Linked DNA regions of Homo sapiens: region 2 is linked to region 1. Evidence: promoter capture Hi-C in human tissues and cell types (Jung and others, 2019). All regions are on one chromosome and are shown on one strand. Each heading gives the region's core, a stretch centred on a gene start or on the middle of the fragment in contact. The rest is flanking DNA. Distances are from core to core; before and after follow the strand shown.

What was found. Contacts are between HindIII fragments. The study calls those that stand out against the background at their distance.
Region 2: a contact is called between a fragment that was not itself captured here and the fragment with the promoter of GDF6 in region 1, in 2 of the 25 tissues and cell types used here (IMR-90 fibroblasts and mesenchymal stem cells).

Annotation. Positions count from the first base shown.
Region 1 is chr8:96,157,704-96,162,986 of GRCh38, reverse strand. GDF6 (growth differentiation factor 6) reads left to right here and starts at 2,181. Exons shown (of 2, transcript NM_001001557.4): 1 at 2,181-2,700. The coding sequence starts at 2,295. The HindIII fragment of the contact is 22,921 bases long and covers 1-5,283 here.
Region 2 is chr8:96,018,929-96,024,157 of GRCh38, reverse strand. LOC124901983 (a long non-coding RNA gene) reads right to left here. Exons shown (of 3, transcript XR_007061016.1): 2 at 5,081-5,229; 3 at 1-3,364. Among named protein-coding and RNA genes, the nearest start is that of GDF6, 140 kb to the left of the region's middle. The HindIII fragment of the contact is 3,826 bases long and covers 1,551-5,229 here.

The sequences.
Region 1 (5,283 bases), core at 932-3,431:
TCCTTTTATTTTATTTTATTGTAAATATTAACAAGCCATTTTAAAGCACAGAGAGAGGAAGGAAGAAAATATTATAGTAAAAGCACCTTCAAGTATAAGGTCTCAGAACTTGACAACCATGAAACCCAAACTAGGGGACATAAGTAGAATTGGGATAGGGCCAGAAGGGGCATCCACGGAGACCAAGGGGAGAGCAGCCAAGCTCAATAGCCCAGTGATTAAGAGCCCAGACTCTGGAGTAGTGTGACCCTGGGCCTCACTTTCCCTATCTGTAAAATAGGAATAATACAGCACTTATTTCAGGATTGCTGTGAAGATTAAGTAAAATAATATTGGCGAAGGGCTTCAAACCATGACTGACACACAAGTTCTCTGTGGGTGCTTGCCATTACCTGGAGGAGGCCAGTGTCCAGGGTGGAGGGCATATCCCAGACCTTAAGGAAGTTAAAGGATGAGGGGAGCAGCGCAGCAAAACTCCCTCCCCCTGCAGGCTGTCATGTGAGTGGTCCCTGCAGGACAGAAGAGGTGATGAAAAAGCAAAAGGAAGAAGGGGTTAGAAAGTGAGAGGGAGGAGATTGGAGAGACTGGGAACACACACAGAAAGTAGCATGGCGGAGAAAGAAGCCACCTGAGATCAAGTGAAACCATAAAGAGAAGAAAAAAGCCAGAACTGAAATAGAGAAGTTGGGCCAGGAATGACTGTCTATGCTGTAGTGGGAAGAATCTTGGGCTTGGGGTGGGAGCCTGGGTTCTGTCCCTTGCTGCATAACCTCTTGGCAGAGTGGCCTTGGAAAAGTCACTTATTTCCATTGAGTCTTTTTTTTTTCCATCCGTGAAGGTGAAAATAGTCAACGCCAACCTCACAAAGCTGTTGGCACGATTAAAGGAGGGTACTTTATGGTTGGTGCCTGAGCACCCAATCAGTACTGAGGGAAACTCTTCTGCCCATAGCAGTCCAGGGCAGAGCACTGTGGCAGACAGAAGCAGCGCTACGCCGCATCGCCTTTCAGCGTGCAGGCCCAGGAATGAGCGAGGCAGTGGGCGGGGAAGACAGGCACGGGGAATCTGGGGACAGATAAAGGAAACTCGTGATGGGGCGAGGCTGGGCTGAAGAGAAACAGATTGGGGTAGAGCTGCAAAGGGAGGGGTCCACTGGAAGGCGAGGGGGGAGGCCGGGAAGAGAGAGGGTGGGAAGGCAGTGTGAGATGGGAGGGCAGTGTGAGAAGAAAAGCAGGCTGGGGAAGAGGGATTGGAATGCAGAAGGAACTTGGGGAAGGAGGAAGTCCTGCAGGCGGGAGGGAAAGAAGAGAGGGAAAATGGGGATGCAGTGGAGGCGGGGGGCAGGCCGCGAGAGGGAGAGGATCCCGGGAGCAGACGAAGAAGTGGAGCAGCTAAAGTCTGCGTCAGAAGAGGTTGGGGACTGCGAGAGGAGAGGCTGGGGCCTGCAGGGGAGCGCAGCAGCTTTTAGCATCGATCCAAACTCTAAAGACTCGTGGCCTTTGCCTGACCTCGAGGGTCGGGAATAGACGCCTGTCTTTGTGGAGAGCGATACCCAACCGAGAAAATGGGGCTGTTCCGAGCTGGGCCCTGCGCCTGGCCCAGGGCGAGGCTTCTCTGGCTCCGGGCTGGCCCCTGAGGGGCGCAAACGGCAGGCCTGGCGGTTGGGGCCGAGGAGGGAGGGTACCACCGCCCCGAGGCAGCACGCAGCCTGCAGCAGAGGCGCCTGCTCCAAGCTGTCTCTTGGGGGCGCCGCCGCCGCTTCCCTCCTCCGGGGCCGCTCGCTCCCAGGAAAGTGGAGGCGGCTGGCGAGGACCGAGAGCCGGGGCCGCGCTGCGGAGGGACCACACCTCCGGGAGTTCGAGGGGGACCCTGGCGCGGCGGGCCAGCCTTTGCTCCCCGGCCACGGGCCGGCAGCGCCCGCCTTCCCCCGGTCAGCGCTTGCGGCCCGCGCCGCGCGCACCGCCCGGCAACCCCGCGCGCGTCCCGCGGGGGCGCTGCGTCTTCCTGCCACACCGGCGCACCGCGGCCCCTCTCCCCCACACCTCCGGCCCGCACCACCCGGCTCTCCTCCCACCCTCCCCACCCCTCCTCTGCCCTCCCTCCCCATTCCTCCCCTCCCGGCGAGGGGCGGGAGGGGGCGTGGCGGGGCCGGGGTTTGTGTGGCTGGGACCCGGCTCCTCGCACTCCGAGTCCGCCCGAGGAGCCGGGCCCCGGCCGCTGTCCAGCCGCTCCGTGCCCCGCGCGTCCTGCGCCGCCGCCACCGCCTCCTGGGGAGACGCAGCCACTTGCCCGCCATGGATACTCCCAGGGTCCTGCTCTCGGCCGTCTTCCTCATCAGTTTTCTGTGGGATTTGCCCGGTTTCCAGCAGGCTTCCATCTCATCCTCCTCGTCGTCCGCCGAGCTGGGTTCCACCAAGGGCATGCGAAGCCGCAAGGAAGGCAAGATGCAGCGGGCGCCGCGCGACAGTGACGCGGGCCGGGAGGGCCAGGAACCACAGCCGCGGCCTCAGGACGAACCCCGGGCTCAGCAGCCCCGGGCGCAGGAGCCGCCAGGCAGGGGTCCGCGCGTGGTGCCCCACGAGTACATGCTGTCAATCTACAGGACTTACTCCATCGCTGAGAAGCTGGGCATCAATGCCAGCTTTTTCCAGTCTTCCAAGTCGGCTAATACGATCACCAGCTTTGTAGACAGGGGACTAGGTAAGTGGCAAAGAAAACGCTCGACTCCCCTCCCGCTGGAGCTCGGCAGCCAGGGAGCTGTTCCCGCTGGAGGCTACATTTGTGAATTCCCTTCCTGCTCTGGACACTTCCTTTTTACTTTTCTTAAATTGTTTTTCTCAAGCTCGAGTAAGTTTCTGAATGTGGCTGCGGATTCTATTCCAGTCTCTAAACCTCCCTTCCTTTCCCCCCCTTTCTTTCTCTCTCCCTTCTTTCCTTCTTCCTCTTTTGCAGAAGGCAGCGTGGTTGCCGCTTGTTGGTGGCTGGTGGGGGAAACGTGGAGGACGGGAGGCAGCAGGCGGATGAACCCGGCTGGAGAGGGGTCGGGATGGGGACTGATGGAATCGGTGTCTCGGGATACTGGGTTCGCAGTCCAAGGCCTGAGCTGCTGGGGCAGATCTAGGGCATGAGACAGCCTTGGAAAGCCCTGGGCAAAGCCGGCACTAGGGAGTCCCACAGTCTGAGGAACTAGTCCGCGAGCGGCGTCGGGCAGCCCCCTGGTCCTGGCGCCGCGCGGGTTTTCCGTTGGTCCCTGCGCTGGGTGGGATGGTCAGCCGGGCTGGAGCCCTGCGCCCTCCGGCTTTTTTGCTCCAGCGTGGTGCTCCCGGCTGCTCCGAGGCCTCAACACGAGTGGTTTCTGCAGATGCGGCGGCAGCAGTTGGGCGGGCCGGGACAGGGACGGCTAAGTTCGGAGGTTGTGGGTACTTAATACACAAAGGTACATGGGTATGCCCATCCACCTTTCTCAGCCAGGCGACGTTCCTCTCTCTACGCTATTCCTGAGGGCTGGTGGGGGTCTGGGAAATCCCTGGTACCCTCTGTGGGAACGCCTGCATGTGTGGGTGTCTGCGGAAACCCTTGCGGCCCCTTCTTGCCACCGGCGTTGATCTGCAGCGTGGCCAGTGCCCTCAAGAAAACCTCGCACCACCTCTGGTCCCAGAAATCAGGGAAGGATCCACAGGCATCGGAAACTAAGCTCCTAAAGGAGAGAGACAATAATGTGGAAGGAGACAGGAAAGGAAGGGAGAAAAAGGAAAGGAAGAGTAAAGAGAAGGAAGGAAGAAAATGACGGGATAAAAGCGATTTAGGCAGATATCCACTCCTCCATCCTCCCTAGACTTAGCTCCATGACTTTGACCTGCTCCCAGTTAAGTGGGGTTGCCCGGAAACCTTGCAGCGCTGGGGTTCGGGATTCGGAAGCTGCTTCAGCCACTGCTACCCTGGGTGCTCGCACATCTCTTAAGCTTTTTAGAGCAGGCTAACGGCCCCCCCGCCCCCAGCCCCGAGCTCTTCCCCGGCTCCAGTCCCCGCCTCTCACTCATAGTCGCGTTCCTTGCTCGAGGGTCTCGCCGCTGCAGCCCGAGGTCAGCGAGGTTCATGAGCTGCTGAAAGGTCCAGAGGGCAAATTAACGCCAGGTATTTTATGATGATTTTAGGGCTACTAAAGTCACCTTTGCAAAGACATGTGGCTTCTTCGTAGTAGTGCAACTGAGTCCCTGGCCTCCGTGCTGCCCGTGCAGCTCGCCAACCCTCCCCACGACGCACGCCTTGCTACAGTTGTTTCTGTCCCTCAAAGTCCTCTGTTAATCGTGCACTTTCTCTACTACAATTGCGGAAGGAGGCTAAGGAAGCTCAGAGAAGACTGCTCAAGAGGCCCTTCCTCAAGAGAAGAAGTCCCAGAGGCCTAGGCTGGCCGGCGGTTGGGCGCGGATTTTCTTTGCCCGGGAATGAAGTGGCAAGAATCTCTGCCCCTCCCCCAAGTGGGCACCATAACTGGTTCGCTGCGCCCTGTGAATTTGGCACAGGACCAAAAGACCCTGCGGGCTGTTCGGAGGTGTCTCCGGAAGCCTGTGGCATTCAGACAAGGGTTGGGGAAAAGTCTTGGGGGCCCCAATCCGGCGTAGACGCGAAATCACTTTACCCTGGTTTGCCCTGTAGCCTCCCCACCCCCATCCCCGCCACTGCGCTGTATGCCCCCGATCCTGGAGATAGAGGAGGGATTGCATGTGCACCCAGTCTGGGGAGGCCTCTGTTCCCGAGCCAAGGCCTCCAGACTAGCAGGACCGAGATCCACAAGTACCGCTACAACCCCGGAATGCGGTGGAGGGCTGGGGATGCGAGCGGTCCACAGCGGGAGGAGACGCTGCATGACCACCCGGACAGCATCTTCAAAGGCGCTGTCTCCTCCGCGTCTCCGGGTTCTCAGAAAATGCGAAGAAAGGCAGTTCGTTGACTGGGAAGGCGGTGCGGCTTGTCGCACGCCGCGCGGGGGTGAAGGAGTGCGGAGCCACGGGCGGGAGGGGTGCGCAGAGGAGGGGGTGCGTTGCTGGCTGCAGCCCCAGCTTGATAAAGGGAAAGCCTCACTTTCCCTCTCACTGATTTTGATTTGATGTGTCACCGGCGGTGACCTCAGGCTGGACCTTCCGGGGCTTGCTTAGCATCGGGCCCCTGATTGGAGTGTTTCAACTCAGCGATCTAATTGAGGGTTCATGTCATAACACATCAAACGGTGTCTCGTCTCCCGTGATGGAAGGGACCCGCCAGCCGCGCATCCCCGGCTCCTGG
Region 2 (5,229 bases), core at 2,214-4,713, 140 kb after region 1:
AGAAGCTTAAACCAAATGGATTGAAACAATGTAAGAAATTTCTTAGCTCATTTAGTTGAAAATTCCAGAGGTGCAGCATCAGGCATGGTTTGGTCCAGAGGTTCTGCATATCACCAGGGCTGTATGCCCGTTTTCCTGGAATACTCTTGGTTTTGCCCAGTTTCATATTTTGGCTTAATCTTGGGTTGGCTTCTTTCATGTCACATGGCTGCCAGCTGCTCCAGGACTAGTTTCCTCATTAATATCCAAGGAGAAAAATAGTTTCTGTTGTCCCAAACACCAAATGGTAATTATGATCTTCCCTCTGGTTGGACTAGTTTAAGTCATGGGTTCATCCCTGAACCTATCAGTGTGACTAGGGAAATCTGATTCCTTGATTGGCTTAGACCAATCAGGGCCAATCTCTGGAGCTGGAGAAGTGGAGTTAAAATTGCGAAAATCACGAATCTGGGGAGTTTCTTGTCTTATTAGGAATGGGGGAAGGAATGGGGGGAAGACATTCCACTGACAAATCCACTCCTCTGTCTTCTTCCCATGTCTCACACTCCTTTCTTTCCTTATGTACATCTTCAAAAGTTCATGCCTACTGGAATCACAAGCAGCTCTCATTTTGAGTTCCAGATTCTGGATTTGCAGCTGATGTGTCTTCTTCTAGGTCAGTTTCTGGATGGAGTTTTTCATAGTCTGATATAGCTAAATAATGTTACCCACTCCTGTGGAAAAACCTGCAATTTTCCCCTCATTATCTAATCTCCCAATCCTCCCTTTAGTAACAGAACTCCTGATTTTCAACCAAGCACATGGCCACCCAGCTAGACACCACATTTCCTAGACTTCTTGACATTAGATGTGGCCATGAATCCAAATTCACAACAAAGGGATATGAACAAAAGTCAAACGTGCCACTTCTCCTTTATAGCCTTAAAACATATCATTTGTCCTCTCTTGTCTGTTCCCCTTCCTGGGAATGAGAATGCCATGTGGTGGTGAGCAAGGTGGGCTAAAGAGCATAACAACCCAGGCCAGTGGTTTTTGAAAAGGGTCCTGGACCAGCAGTCCAGGGAGCTCACTGGAAAGGCATATTTTCAGGTCCTACTCCAGAACTGGTGAGTCAGGAATTATGGCAGTGGGGCCCAGAAACTTCTGTCTTAATAAGCTCTCCAGGGCATACACACAGAAGTTTGAGAACCACTGTTGGGGTGATTTTTGGCCCTATACCCTCCAACATTTGGCAGTATTTTTGATTGTCACAATGTGGAGGGACAGGAAGGTACTGCTACTTCCATCTAGCAGGTATGGAACAGGCTCACTCTAAACATCCTACTATGCACTAGATAGTCCCAACAGCACAGCTTTATCAGGCCTCAAAAGTCAATATTGCTGAGCTTGAGAAATCCTGCTCTAAGGAAAGTGGAATAATGAAATCGAAGCATTGTGAGTTCCTGGCTAACCCTGGAAAGAACTGTTTAGGGACTCTCTCTGATCTCTACTCTGCACTGCCCAATATGGTAGCCACCAGCTACATGTGGCGTTTGAGCTCCCGAAATGGGACTAGTCTGAATTGACATGGGCTATAATTTAGTCCCTCCCAAAAAAGAATGCAAAATATATCAATAGTATTTTATATCAATTACATGCTGAAATGAAAATATTTTGGATATATTAGTTAAAAGAAATATATTATCAAAAATTAATTTCACTGCTTATTTTTTCCAGTGTGGCTACTAGAGAATTTCAAATTACAAATGAGACTTGCCTTATATTTCTATTAGACAGTGCCGCTCTAGCACTTAAGAAATAAATTTCTTTCTGTCTTCTTTGAGCCACTGTAGTTTTAGGTCTCTTCGTTGCAACAGCTAAGCCTGTTTTCCTTTCTATGATAACCCAGTAAATATAAAATGGTGGAGGATAGCTTCAAGGAAAACTTTTATTGGAAGAAATAGACAATGAGAAAACAGTACACAGTGGTCTCTGATTCACTGTATGTATTTTTCCCTGCTTGACAGGAACAGTGAAGTGTTCTTGCCTTGGTAATGCAGTGAGTTCCTTGGTTAGCCAATCTGACAAATCCTAGATGTGCTGTCTGGAAACGTCTCCCTTGTCCGTTGTCCTCTTAGCCCATCTGAGATAGATATTGGCACATATGCCCTTTTTGGGATCTGTACTTCTTTGAAGCCCATTACTTTTTGGTGCAAATTTGAGGGGCCTGGAAATTACCTCAGGGATTGAAGAATCACAGGCTGTTGTCAGCCAGGCTTGGGTTTCTTGGACTGAACCAAATTCCTTAAAAACCTGAAGGCTTCCTGTCTATTTGCCTTCCACCAATTCCATGAGCTGATAATCAAAGCCAGAGTCCTTGTCTAGTCATCTCTGAGTCTGGGAATTCCGGTCTCTCAGCAACAGGCTTCTGTGCTCTGCCTTGCCAAGATAGCCAGGGCTGAGCACTTTGCCAAAATTCTGCCATCCATCTTGCACCTGAAAAGCAGCCAGCCCACGGGTGCCGCCCCACAGAGATACCTGGCACTTCGTGGTGCATAAGCAAATTGCCGGGATCCTGCCTGTGAGTTTCCATTCAAGGCATGGGAAGAGTCAGTTGGTCAGCAGTGTCTGAAGCTGGGGCTGCAGGGCCAAGAGGTGGTGGGGTTGTCGTGAAAGAGGTGGTGGGGTCATTGTGATGGCTGAGCACTTGAATAAGCCACAGTCCCCTGTTGTGGAGCAGCAACAAGGCCAACAGGCATGAGAGCTTTTTACACGCTGAATAAGGCTCCAGTTTCTGAATATCTTTCTGGGCTCCATAAAACCTAGTTGTGTGGCCAGGGTGGTAGGTTTCAGAAGTGAGAGCAGGGTGACCTCTCTATATAGGAAGTCCCATAAAGGAACCCTTTTTCCTGGCCTAGCCAATACCTCTCCAAGTGAGCATCCCAGTCATGCACCCCTGCTGTCTGTATATGGCACACCCTCTTCCTAGGGGGTACTTGTCAGGCACTCTAAGTCCCCTGCTTTTAGAAATGGACAGAATAAAATCCCCCTCTTAGATTTGTAAGTAGATTTTTCTGGCAGAATAACGAGCCCCTCTTGCCATTAATCTTAATAAGCTTTGGGGCTAACAAAATCCATTTTCCCAAGGTCGGAATTATTCTTAAGTGGACTTTGGGAAACATTTTAACCTTTTTGTCACTCAGGCTAAAGAATTAAAACACATTTCTGGAATTTTTTTCTGGGGTTACTAGGAAGCCAGAGTGAGGCGTGGCTGCCTTTGTGTATTTTTCTTTATAAAAACCTTGATGTCAGGGGACCCAGGCCCTTCTCAGCTCCGGTTTGTGTTTGTATTTCCACGTATAGTGCACATTCCTGGTGGATATTTCTAGGAAAAAGAAGAAAAAGTGGCATAATGATAGACTAAGGCAAGGAAAATGTTTTTGTGAAGCAAACAGGCCAAAAATGAAAAAATGGGAGCAACTCTGACCCTGGTATACCACCCTACTCATAACCCAGGCAGCAGGGTTACCAGCTTTGCCTTACATTCTCAGACTAAATTCGTCTAATGTAAAACAGTGCATGGGAACCGAACTCCCGTTTTCTCTCAGGTATGGTGACATAGTAGGAGATGTCACTTTGAATACTTCCAAATGAGAAAGAAAGATGACAGATTTGGCTGCTGCATGGTTCAAAGATGCAGGAAATGGATACAATACGTGGTGTCGTTTAGATTCAAAACAAGGGTACTTGAGTGTTCAGTGTTACTTGCAATAAATATATTAGATTTAAGCCTCAGTTTGAACCTAACCATAACTGGATTCTTAACTATCTAGTTTAAATGACTGGTAACATGAAGCATTTCATAATTTCTGGTCCATTAGTTGCGATCAGGTCCTAATTAACATTCCAGGACCTGGTTTTAGCCAACCTATGTGGAAAATTTGAAGTGGGAACACATATCTGGGGCTATGCCTCTAGTATGGTGTGTATCACGTTGTGGTTTCTGCTACATTTTTTTGGGGTGGGGGGCAGAATTGGACCAGTGGAGATTACCCACACAGTTATGAGTTGCTTAATGACGGGGATATGTTCTAAGAAATATATCATTACGTAATTCTGTTGTGTGAACATCATAGTGGGTACTACCCAAACCTACATGGTGTAGCCCACTACATACCTAGGCTATAAGATATAGTCTATTGCTCCAAGGCTACAAACCTGTACAGCATGTTACTGTACTGAATATTGTAAGCAATTGTAATACAGTGGTAAGTATTTGTGTATTGAAACATATCTAAATATAGAAAAGGTACAGTAAAATTATGGTATAAAAGATATAAAATGGTACACCTGTACAGGGCACTTACCATGAACAAAGCTTGCAGGACTGGAAGTTGCTCTGGGTGAGTCAGTGAGTGAGTGGTGAGTGAATGTGAAGGCCTAGGACTTTACTGTACACTACTACGGATTTTATAAACACAGTACACTTAGGCTACACTCAGGCTACACTCAATTTAGGAAAACATGTTTTTCTTTCTTCAATAATAAATCAACCTTAGCTTACCGTGACTTTTTAACTTTATAAACTTTTTACTTTTTTAACTTTTTAACCCTTTGTAATAACTGCTTAAAACACAAACATCGCTGGGCACGTGGCTCACACCTGTTATCCCAGAATTTGGGAGGCTGAGGCAGGTGGATCACCTGAGGTTAGGAGTTTGAGACCAGACTGACCATAATGGTGAAAACCCGTCTCTACTAAAAATACAAAAATTAGTTAGGCATGGTGGCTCACACCTGTAGTCCCAGCTACTCGGGAGGCTGAGGCACGAGAATCACTTGAACCCGGGAGGCAGAGGTTGCAGTGAGCCAAGATCACACCACTGCACTCCAGCCTGGGCAACAGAGTGAGACCCGGTCTCAAACAAACAAACAAACAACAAACAAACAAACAAACACAAACACATCACATTGTACAGCTGTACAAAATATTTCCTTTCTTTATATCCATACTCTATAAGCTTTTTTCTATTTTTAAAGTTTTTAACATTTTTCCTACTTTTAATACTTTTTTGTTAAAAACCAAGACATAAATACACACCTTAGCAAAAAAAGGGTCAGGATCATCGGTATCATTGTCTTCCACCTCCACATCTTGTCCCACTGGAAAGTCTTCAGGGAGAGTAACATGCCTGGAGTTGTCATCTCCTGTGACAACAGTGCCTTCCTGTGGAATCCCTTCTGAAGGAC